Linked DNA regions of Homo sapiens: regions 1 and 2 are each linked to region 3. The links are contacts of gene promoters, found by promoter capture Hi-C in blood cells and fetal thymus (Javierre and others, 2016). All regions are on one chromosome and are shown on one strand. The core of a region is centred on a gene start or on the middle of the fragment in contact, and the rest is flanking DNA. Distances in the headings are between cores, read along the strand shown. Region 1 holds the start of OR8D2 (olfactory receptor family 8 subfamily D member 2). Region 2 has its middle 26 kb from the start of OR8B2. Region 3 holds the start of OR8D4 (olfactory receptor family 8 subfamily D member 4).

What was found. The method cuts DNA at HindIII sites, captures the fragments that hold promoters and counts their contacts. A CHiCAGO score of 5 or more calls a contact.
Region 1: the fragment with the promoter of OR8D2 here is called in contact with the fragment with the promoter of OR8D4 in region 3 in 4 of 17 cell types (activated CD4 T cells, monocytes, erythroblasts and 1 more); the score reaches 6.8 in activated CD4 T cells.
Region 2: a contact is called between a fragment that was not itself captured here and the fragment with the promoter of OR8D4 in region 3, in 1 of 17 cell types (erythroblasts). The highest score is 5.5, in erythroblasts.

The regions. Positions count from the first base shown.
Region 1 is chr11:124,318,882-124,321,581 of GRCh38, forward strand. OR8D2 (olfactory receptor family 8 subfamily D member 2) reads right to left here and starts at 1,316. Exons shown (of 1, transcript NM_001002918.1): 1 at 381-1,316. The coding sequence starts at 1,316. The coding sequence ends at 381. All of the region lies in intron 2 of LOC112268069 (a long non-coding RNA gene), which reads left to right. The HindIII fragment of the contact is 6,670 bases long and covers 1-2,700 here.
Region 2 is chr11:124,356,949-124,359,735 of GRCh38, forward strand. It overlaps the pseudogene OR8B5P. Among named protein-coding and RNA genes, the nearest start is that of OR8B2, 26 kb to the right of the region's middle. The HindIII fragment of the contact is 2,505 bases long and covers 115-2,619 here.
Region 3 is chr11:123,900,837-123,903,536 of GRCh38, forward strand. It overlaps OR8D4 (olfactory receptor family 8 subfamily D member 4), which reads left to right and starts at 1,331. Exons shown (of 2, transcript NM_001005197.2): 1 at 1,331-1,421. The HindIII fragment of the contact is 7,569 bases long and covers 2-2,700 here.

The sequences.
Region 1 (2,700 bases), core at 66-2,565, 420 kb after region 3:
TTCAAGGCTGAGGATCGTGACTCAGGCTTCTAATTCCAGCACATTGGGAGGCCAAGTTTGGAGGATTACTTGAGGCCAGAAGTTCAAGACCAGCCTGGGCTTTCAAAAGTAATATGTTCAATAAATTGTTTTTAATGTTTATTTGCCCTTCCTCTTCTGTCATCTCCCATTTCTCTAATACATTTTCGAAGATTATATTGACCATCAGAAAATTTTGTTTCATAATCTCCAAAAATGTCTTAATCATTCTCTAATATAAAATATACATTTTTAAGTGATGATAATTTTTCTCTCTCCGAGAGAGACAGAAACTTACAAAGATCCTATAACAACTTTTTATATGGTTTATTTTTTCTGGCTGCCAATGAGAACCCTCTTTGTCAGGATGACTGCCTTCCCCTAGTCATCTTCTTCAGTGCATTTTTCACATCCTTGTTCCTCAGGCTATAGATTAGAGGATTCAGCATGGGGATTATTGTGATGTAGAACACAGAAGACACCTTCTCTTTTTCCATAGTAGTGCTGGAAGGGGGCTTGAAATACATGAATGTTATAGACCCAAAAAAGATGCCCACAGCCAAGAGATGGGAGCTACAAGTGCCAAAGGCTTTGGATTGCCCCTCAGTGGAATGAATACCAAGGATACTAGAGAAAATGAAAGCATAAGAGATAAGGACCGCCAGTGTAGTTGCTAAGGTATTAACTCCTCCAATAATGAACAGCAGAATCTCATTGATGTGGGTGCTGGAGCAAGACAGAGTCAATAAGGGGAGAATATCACAAAAATAATGACTGACCGTATGAGACCTACAGAATGACAACACTGACATGCGGGTAGTATGGACTGTGGCCCACAGAAAACCCAGTGAGTATACCACAGCCATCATTATGGAACAGACCCTGTGGGACATGACAATATTGTAAAGCAGTGGGCGACAGATAGCAACATAACGGTCATATTCCATGGCTGTCAGAAGGTAGCCTTCTGCAATTACAAAAATAAGGAAGAAATAAAGTTGAGTAATGCATTCCAGAAAGGAGATAATGTTCTCCTCTGGAACAAAGTTCACCAGCATCTTAGGGGTAATGACAGAGGAGTAGCAGAGATCAATGAAAGACAAATGACTGAGAAAATAATACACTGGAGGGTAAAGTTGAGAACTGAGAGCAATTAAGAAGATCATGCCCAGGTTCCCCACCACTGTGACCACATATATTCCAAGGAACAGGAGGAAGAGTGGCAGTTGAAGTTCTGGGCGTTGTGTCAAGCCTGCCAGGATAAACTCAGCCCCTGAAGAATGGTTTGAAGTAGCCATGTCTTTTAAGGTATTATGTGTAATAAGAAATAAGAGAAAAGAGAGACATTAGATTTATTTTCTGATTCCCAAAGCAGAATGACATGCCCCATGTTGGTTGCTTCCATTCCTGAGAGCCTCATCTGTCCCATGATTGCCTCTTTTCAGGGACCTCTTACAAGATCAAGGGCAAATATTATGAGTATAACCAAGAACCTTGATTTCACCCAAAACCCTGTTGAATGCTCCTCTTTTAGTAAGAGTCCTCCCATTTTGTTTCCAGGCTTATGCCCATAATTACCTCACTGCTGGAGGAAGCACAAACTTTCCAAATCTAATTAGTTTGTCATTGCTACCATTAAAACAACACTGCTTACCTTCTTTATCTGAGCATATGCCAATAGAACCTTCAGACTTTGTTACAACATGGCTTCTAATCCAGCTCTGATGATATAAAAGTAGTCCATTTCAGTTTCCTTACCCATCAACATGAATCAACATAATTAGCATTTGCTAAAACTAGGAAATAAGAAACATAAAAGACGTCTATAAAGAGACCTTAGTACAAAAAAAAAAAGTATGGAAATGGTTCTAATCAATTCTGACCCTCATTAGCTCACTTCTGTTCTTTGAATGGAAAACTTGAGTGGGCCAGGAGATTCTTGTACTCAGTGTGGATGTGGTTGACAGAAATGTTGTGCCAAGGGCTATCCTGAGATTCTAGTTTAGATCTTTCCTGTTCCAGAAACAGCAAAGAAGCAAAGAAGTAAGGCTGACTTTCAGGTGTAAGACCTGAACCATCAGCAACTCAGCGCTTCCCTCCTTGGCCCTTTCCTGCTATCCATTATTCATGGCCAAACTCTCACTGACCTTTCTCTTTCAAAGCTGTGAGATCTGAACTGGAGATTTCTTATTCCCTGACTTCGTTTCCCCTAAAGTTTAAGCAAAGGATTCAGGGTGTGTTGCTTTCAGCTGAAACACTGTATATTACCTAAGACATCAGGTTTCATAATTTTTTTCCAAAGTGAGAAAAAATGTCAAGGGAGGAAAAACTCCATACATAGAGTGAGATGTTGTTTGCTTTTATTTTGCATAAAAACATATTTTTATGATCACAAACAAAAATTTATAAAAATTTGCTTCTACAGTGTTTTAAGGGTACTCAATATGTATATCGATTTAAAAGCTGACAGGTGGGGTGTTATCTCCAAGAGCACTTGAGAAGACAGCCATGTTTCTGAATTAGGGGAATTAGAGAATACTCTAAGAGAAAGAGAATCAGAGTTACCAGAATGCAACTCTAACAAGCCCTGTTACGGGAAGTTCAGGAATTCTAGATTTTTAGCCTTACTTGGAAAAATATTCTACCAAATGACTGAATTAGCCAAAAAGAGAATTTGTTGAA
Region 2 (2,787 bases), core at 117-2,616, 460 kb after region 3:
GAATCATTAGCATCTCTTAGTTTCAGCACCTCATAGATGCAATCAGTGTATACTGGTGATCTATATAAGCTATTTGGGGTATACCAAGGTAAACGTAAAATTAATGCCAAAAGAAGCTTCATGTGTAGTATTTAAAACTGCAAAGTGGGCTGTATTTGTTAAGTCTTGTTGAACCTTGTCTGTCTGGAAAACGCTGACGTTTAAAGGATGCATGATGCTGCCCAGTGGAGGATGGAAAGACGAGTAGAGACAGGTTGTCAGGCTCTTACATGCAGCGGAACATTGTTATCCTAATTTTACTTTACTTGATCATTTGAAAAACCAATCATCTTTTCTAGAAGAAAAAAGGAAGTCCATAATGACAATGGAAAAAGAGAAAAACTTTCTTTATTATTACACAGGAAAAATGATGAAAAGGGGAAAGATGTGCAAAGGGTGAGGGGAAAAATCTACTATAAAAAATTGGAGACAAATTGACAGGATGATACTCAACTAACCATCATCATGATAACAAATAGGAAAAATTATTTCCTCCTCAATTATTATAATAAAATACAGAGAATCCCCATCCTGTAACTACATACACAGAGAAATGTTGTTTATGGCAAAAACATTCTCCTACTCAGAGATTTTCCCATGGCAAATTTAACATCTTTCCTCCTTAAGCTGTAGATTAAGGAGCTCATCATGGGAAGCCCATTCATATAAAAAACAGAAGAGAATTTTCCCTCATCCATAGACCCAGCAGAAGATGGTTTGAGATACATAAATGCACTTAATCCAAAGAACAGAGAAACAGCAATTATGTGGGAACTGCAAGTGCTGAAGGCTTTGGACCTTCCCTCATTGGAACTGATGTGGAGGATCCTGGAGAGGATGTCACCATAAGAGATAAAGACGGTGACAGTGGGCACAATGGTATTGATGCCTGCCACAATGAAAACCACCAGTTCATTGATGTAGGTGCTGGTGCAGGAGAGCTGGAACACAGGGAGGATGTCACGGAAGTAATGATTGATGGTGTTTGCATCACAGGTCAGCCTCAGCATGCATCCAGTGTGGGCCATGGCCCCAGAAAAGGATAGGAAGTAGGAACCAAGCATAAGGCTGAAACACACTTTAGGGGACATGGCAATGTGATAAAGAAGTGGGTAACAGATGGCCACACAGCAATCATAGGCCATTGACGTCAGCATATAACATTCAGAAATAAATTAAAAAAAAAAAAAAACAGAAAAAGAAAAAGAAAAGCTAGATCATGCAAACCATGTAGGAGATAACATTCTCCTCTGAAATACACTTCCTCGGAAGTTGGAGTATAAACACAGAAGAATAACAGAGGTCTGTGAAGAACAATTTAGAAAGGAAAAAGTACTTGGGAGTGTGAAGACGTGAATTTCGCATAGTTAGAATTACCAAGACAAAGTTTCTTATCACAGTGACAACATACATTACAAGAAACATGAAGAACAGAGGGAGTTAAAGATCTGGCTAGTCTGTTAACCCCACCAGAATGAATTCATTCATCAAAGAGCCATTTCCAGGAGCCATTCTACTCTAAGGGAATCTATGGACACAGGAGAAAAGGGTTGCATAAGAGGACAACCCAGAACTTCCCATGGTGTTTTCTCCCACACCTTGGAATATTGTTGAGATTGTCTGAAACTAGACTGATGTGGACCCACAGAATCTGCCTTTACCACTACTATGTTACTGAGTGACATTGACTTACCCATGGTAGAATCTTACTAAACCAGATATAGCACCAACTTAGCCTATGGAGTGAAGGCTGGTTCTCCCATATGCAAACGTAACTCTTAAGAAGTGATAGAATAAGGGAGAAAAAGGATGAATGGGGACAGAATCATCCTTCCCTCATCTCATTATTTCTTCATTCACTTGAGTCCTCCCTCACCGTTAAAATTGGAAGCAGAGACCTTTGCGACCTGGTGCCCATCTCCAATGCAGATTAGACTGTGGTGTGGGAGGGAGAAAGAATCTTGTTTCTAATACACAGGTAGGGGAACCAAGTCTAGAAAAGGTTATATTACTACTCCAAGTCACAGAAAAAGCCATAAATCTAGAAGAGGTAGATTTTCATTCATGGAGAGGGAATTACTGACCAAAATACCGCATCCACCGCTTTCTCTGTTTTCTCTGAACATTCCCAGCTCCCACTTTAAATAGATTCTTACATCAGTTGCACTTGAATCTCAAGACTGACAAGGTGTAAAATAAAAGGCAATATGTTATATCCCTGTAATTCCGTTTCAAAGCAAGACAGTAATATAAATAGAATTCAGAAATACACCCTCTCATGCCAGACAACCTTGGTGCGTACTGTTGATTACTTACCCAGTGGTCCTGGAAGGGCAATTTCAGGGTCTGAGGCTTTGGGTTTTTTGCTTCTAAGAAGGTGCAGCCCAAACTCTATTTCCAGTATGTTCTGAAATTTTTTCTGAACTACAGATCATCTAATTTATTATTATTGCTTTGAATCCTCTCAAGCATCAGAAAAAATAAAGTCTTTATTGTTATCATATATGCCATTTAATGAGACACCAGAAGACTTACTATGAGTTTAATGATAATAATACAAGTTGTTCTAAAGAGGATAGAAGCTTGCTCAGTCTCTTCCCCAGGAAACAGATTTTAAGAGTAACAGGAAAACGGGGGAATTGTATTTCCACCCTGGACCATAATCTGCCTTTAGTTCCTTAGAGACTCAATATTTTACTCAAGTTTTCTTTTCACTCTGGGGATTGTACATCAGCCATGCAGAGCCAG
Region 3 (2,700 bases), core at 81-2,580:
AAGCTTCCTCATTCATGACTGATTTCCCCTGGTTAAGAATTGATCTCATTTTGTTATTTATCTAGTAAGTGAAAATCCTCTCCTGTAAGTTGGCCTATTTTAATCAGCATTTCAGATCACGATCTTCTAGACAGGAGAGAACAAAGTGTTCTGATTGAACTAGATGCTGGGTAGGAATGAGGATGATGCTGAAAAAAGTAAATTCTACTCTAAGCCGGTCATTGCGATAGGCCCTAATGAATGAGAAATTGTCCCTTGTCTCAACGGCGGGGGGGCAATTCCCAAAGAGCAGGGAAGACAGGCACAAATACATGTATGGGGGGACAATGTTAAAGCAGAGGTCAGTACACTGGGAGAATAGTTAAGGGAATAGGAATGGTACCAAAGCACTTTTCCCAAGGAAATAAATTGACATTAAAACATGTTTTAATAACCATCCAATATGAATGGGGGAAGGACCATGCTTTATTTATCCTGGCTCCATCTCCAGAAATTTAGTGTCTTTGACATGGTAGACACTATTGATTATGAGATAATCTGAAGTGGTGTCACAGTTTTCCCCAAAGGCAGATCTGAATATAGCTGTTTGCCCCTGAAAATGTGGAGGCTTTAAGTGCATGTGTTATTTTAACAGAGCCACAAAAGGCTCACCCAAGGATCACCAGGCACATTCTTCCAGATGTCCTGGAAAGCCATTAGAACAGACTGGAGGGCTGGACTCAGACTCATTCCTCTGACTCTTCTTCCATCATTAGCAGACACTAGAAACACTGAATCTACTGCTTTCATCCAAGAAACACTTCAGCTATTCCCAGTGTTCTTCACATATTCCTTAGGTTTTCTACTTCTCAGTTCCTTTGCTTATGCCTTTATCTACGTCTTGAATATTCTTTCATATCCTCTCAGCTTAAATGGATCCTCCCCACCTTTGAAGGCATATTTTACAATCTACCTTTCCATGAAGATCGTCCTTATCGCTCTAGACAGTAATGACCTGTTCCATCTCTGACCTCAAAGTCTACCTACTGCTTATTATACCAAGCACTGTCTATGATGCCTCATTTGTTCAACATTTTAAAATGCAAGCCATGTGTTAGACCATGTATCTTCCCCGACTGAATGGCAAGGGGCATTAGTGTGACTAATCCATGTTAGATTCCCAAAATGATAGGCCAGTTCATGGATAGTTCTTACAAATACATAGGCTGCTGTACCTCAGGAGACAAGAAACCCTTGGGACTACTGGTCTTTATATTTCTTGACACAAAATACCTGAACTGAGAATAAAAGTCATAGCTTCTTGTTAGCTGTTGTCACTCAGACACTTAAAGAAGAAGGTAAAATCAATCCATCTCTACTCCTGAAGTGATGAGGTTAGGAGAAAGAAGAGATACTCACCTACAGTCTTCAGGAGGAAAAAGGTGAGCTTCAGAATTATGATGTTCATATTATAAGTATATTAAAATGTGTTCTGAAATCAATTCCCGATTGTCCCCATGGGTTCTCGAGCTGCATGTTTGAGGCCACTGAGTCACAGAAGTTTAGGGAAGAGGCCATAGGCATCCATCTCAGACTCATTTATGCATTGTCCAGTCACCTTACCTAAGTATCTTGTGTCTAATATATGAATTAATCTGTGAAATCACCTGCTTTAAAAATATATTTACAAATATATTTATGTGAACCTTATAATATGTAAAATACATTCACAGTTATTGTCTCATTTGATTTGCATAACAATCTTTTGAAGTATTTATTATTTTTTACAGATTAAAATATGAAGTTCAGAGAGACTTTATGAGTCAAAGGTTGCACTGTAAATCTTAGAAATGAAAATGATACTGCATCTTATAACTCAGGGTTCATGGTCTTTCTGTTACCTCTGTACTAATGGTTTCTTTCTTTAAAAGGGGACAATTCAGATTTGAAAGATTTAGGGAAAAAGATCACATTCTAGACTTCTGTTGTCCAGTAATATAGCCACTAGCCATAGGTGGCTACTGAGCATTTGAAATCTGGCCGGGTATAAAATACACTATGGATTTCAAAGATTTGTATAATAAAATAATGTAAAATATCTCATTATTTTTAAAATATGAATTATATGTTGAAATGATGTACATGTACATCATTTTGCATGTACAGTTGGCCTGTGTGTCTGTGGGTTCCACATCTGTGGATTCAACCAATGGCAGATGGAAGATTTTTTTTTAATGGGTGGTTATATCTGTACTGAATATGTACAGACATTTTTCTTGTTATTCCCTGAACAATATACTAAAAGAAATATTTACTTAGCATTTACATTATATTAGGTATTATAAGTAATCTAGAGATGATTTAAAGTATACAAAAGGATGTGCTTAGTTAGGTTACATAAAAATACGACACCATTTTAAATCAGGGACTTGAGCATTCAGGGATTTTGGTATCTGAAGGGGTCCAGGAACCAGTCTCCTATGGATATCAAGGACTGAACTGAGTTAAACAAAACATACTAGTAAAATGTATTTTATCTTTTTATTCTGACTTTTTACAAAATGAACTTCTAGGATGTTTTAAATTGCCCGTGTGTCTGCATTATATGTCTATTGGGCAATGCTGATCTAGCATTTACCTTTGCAAAATACTTTCAATAGTCATAGTTTTAATAATACTGTGAGATGCATTGAAATGTTTAAAAACACTTTTCTTATGATT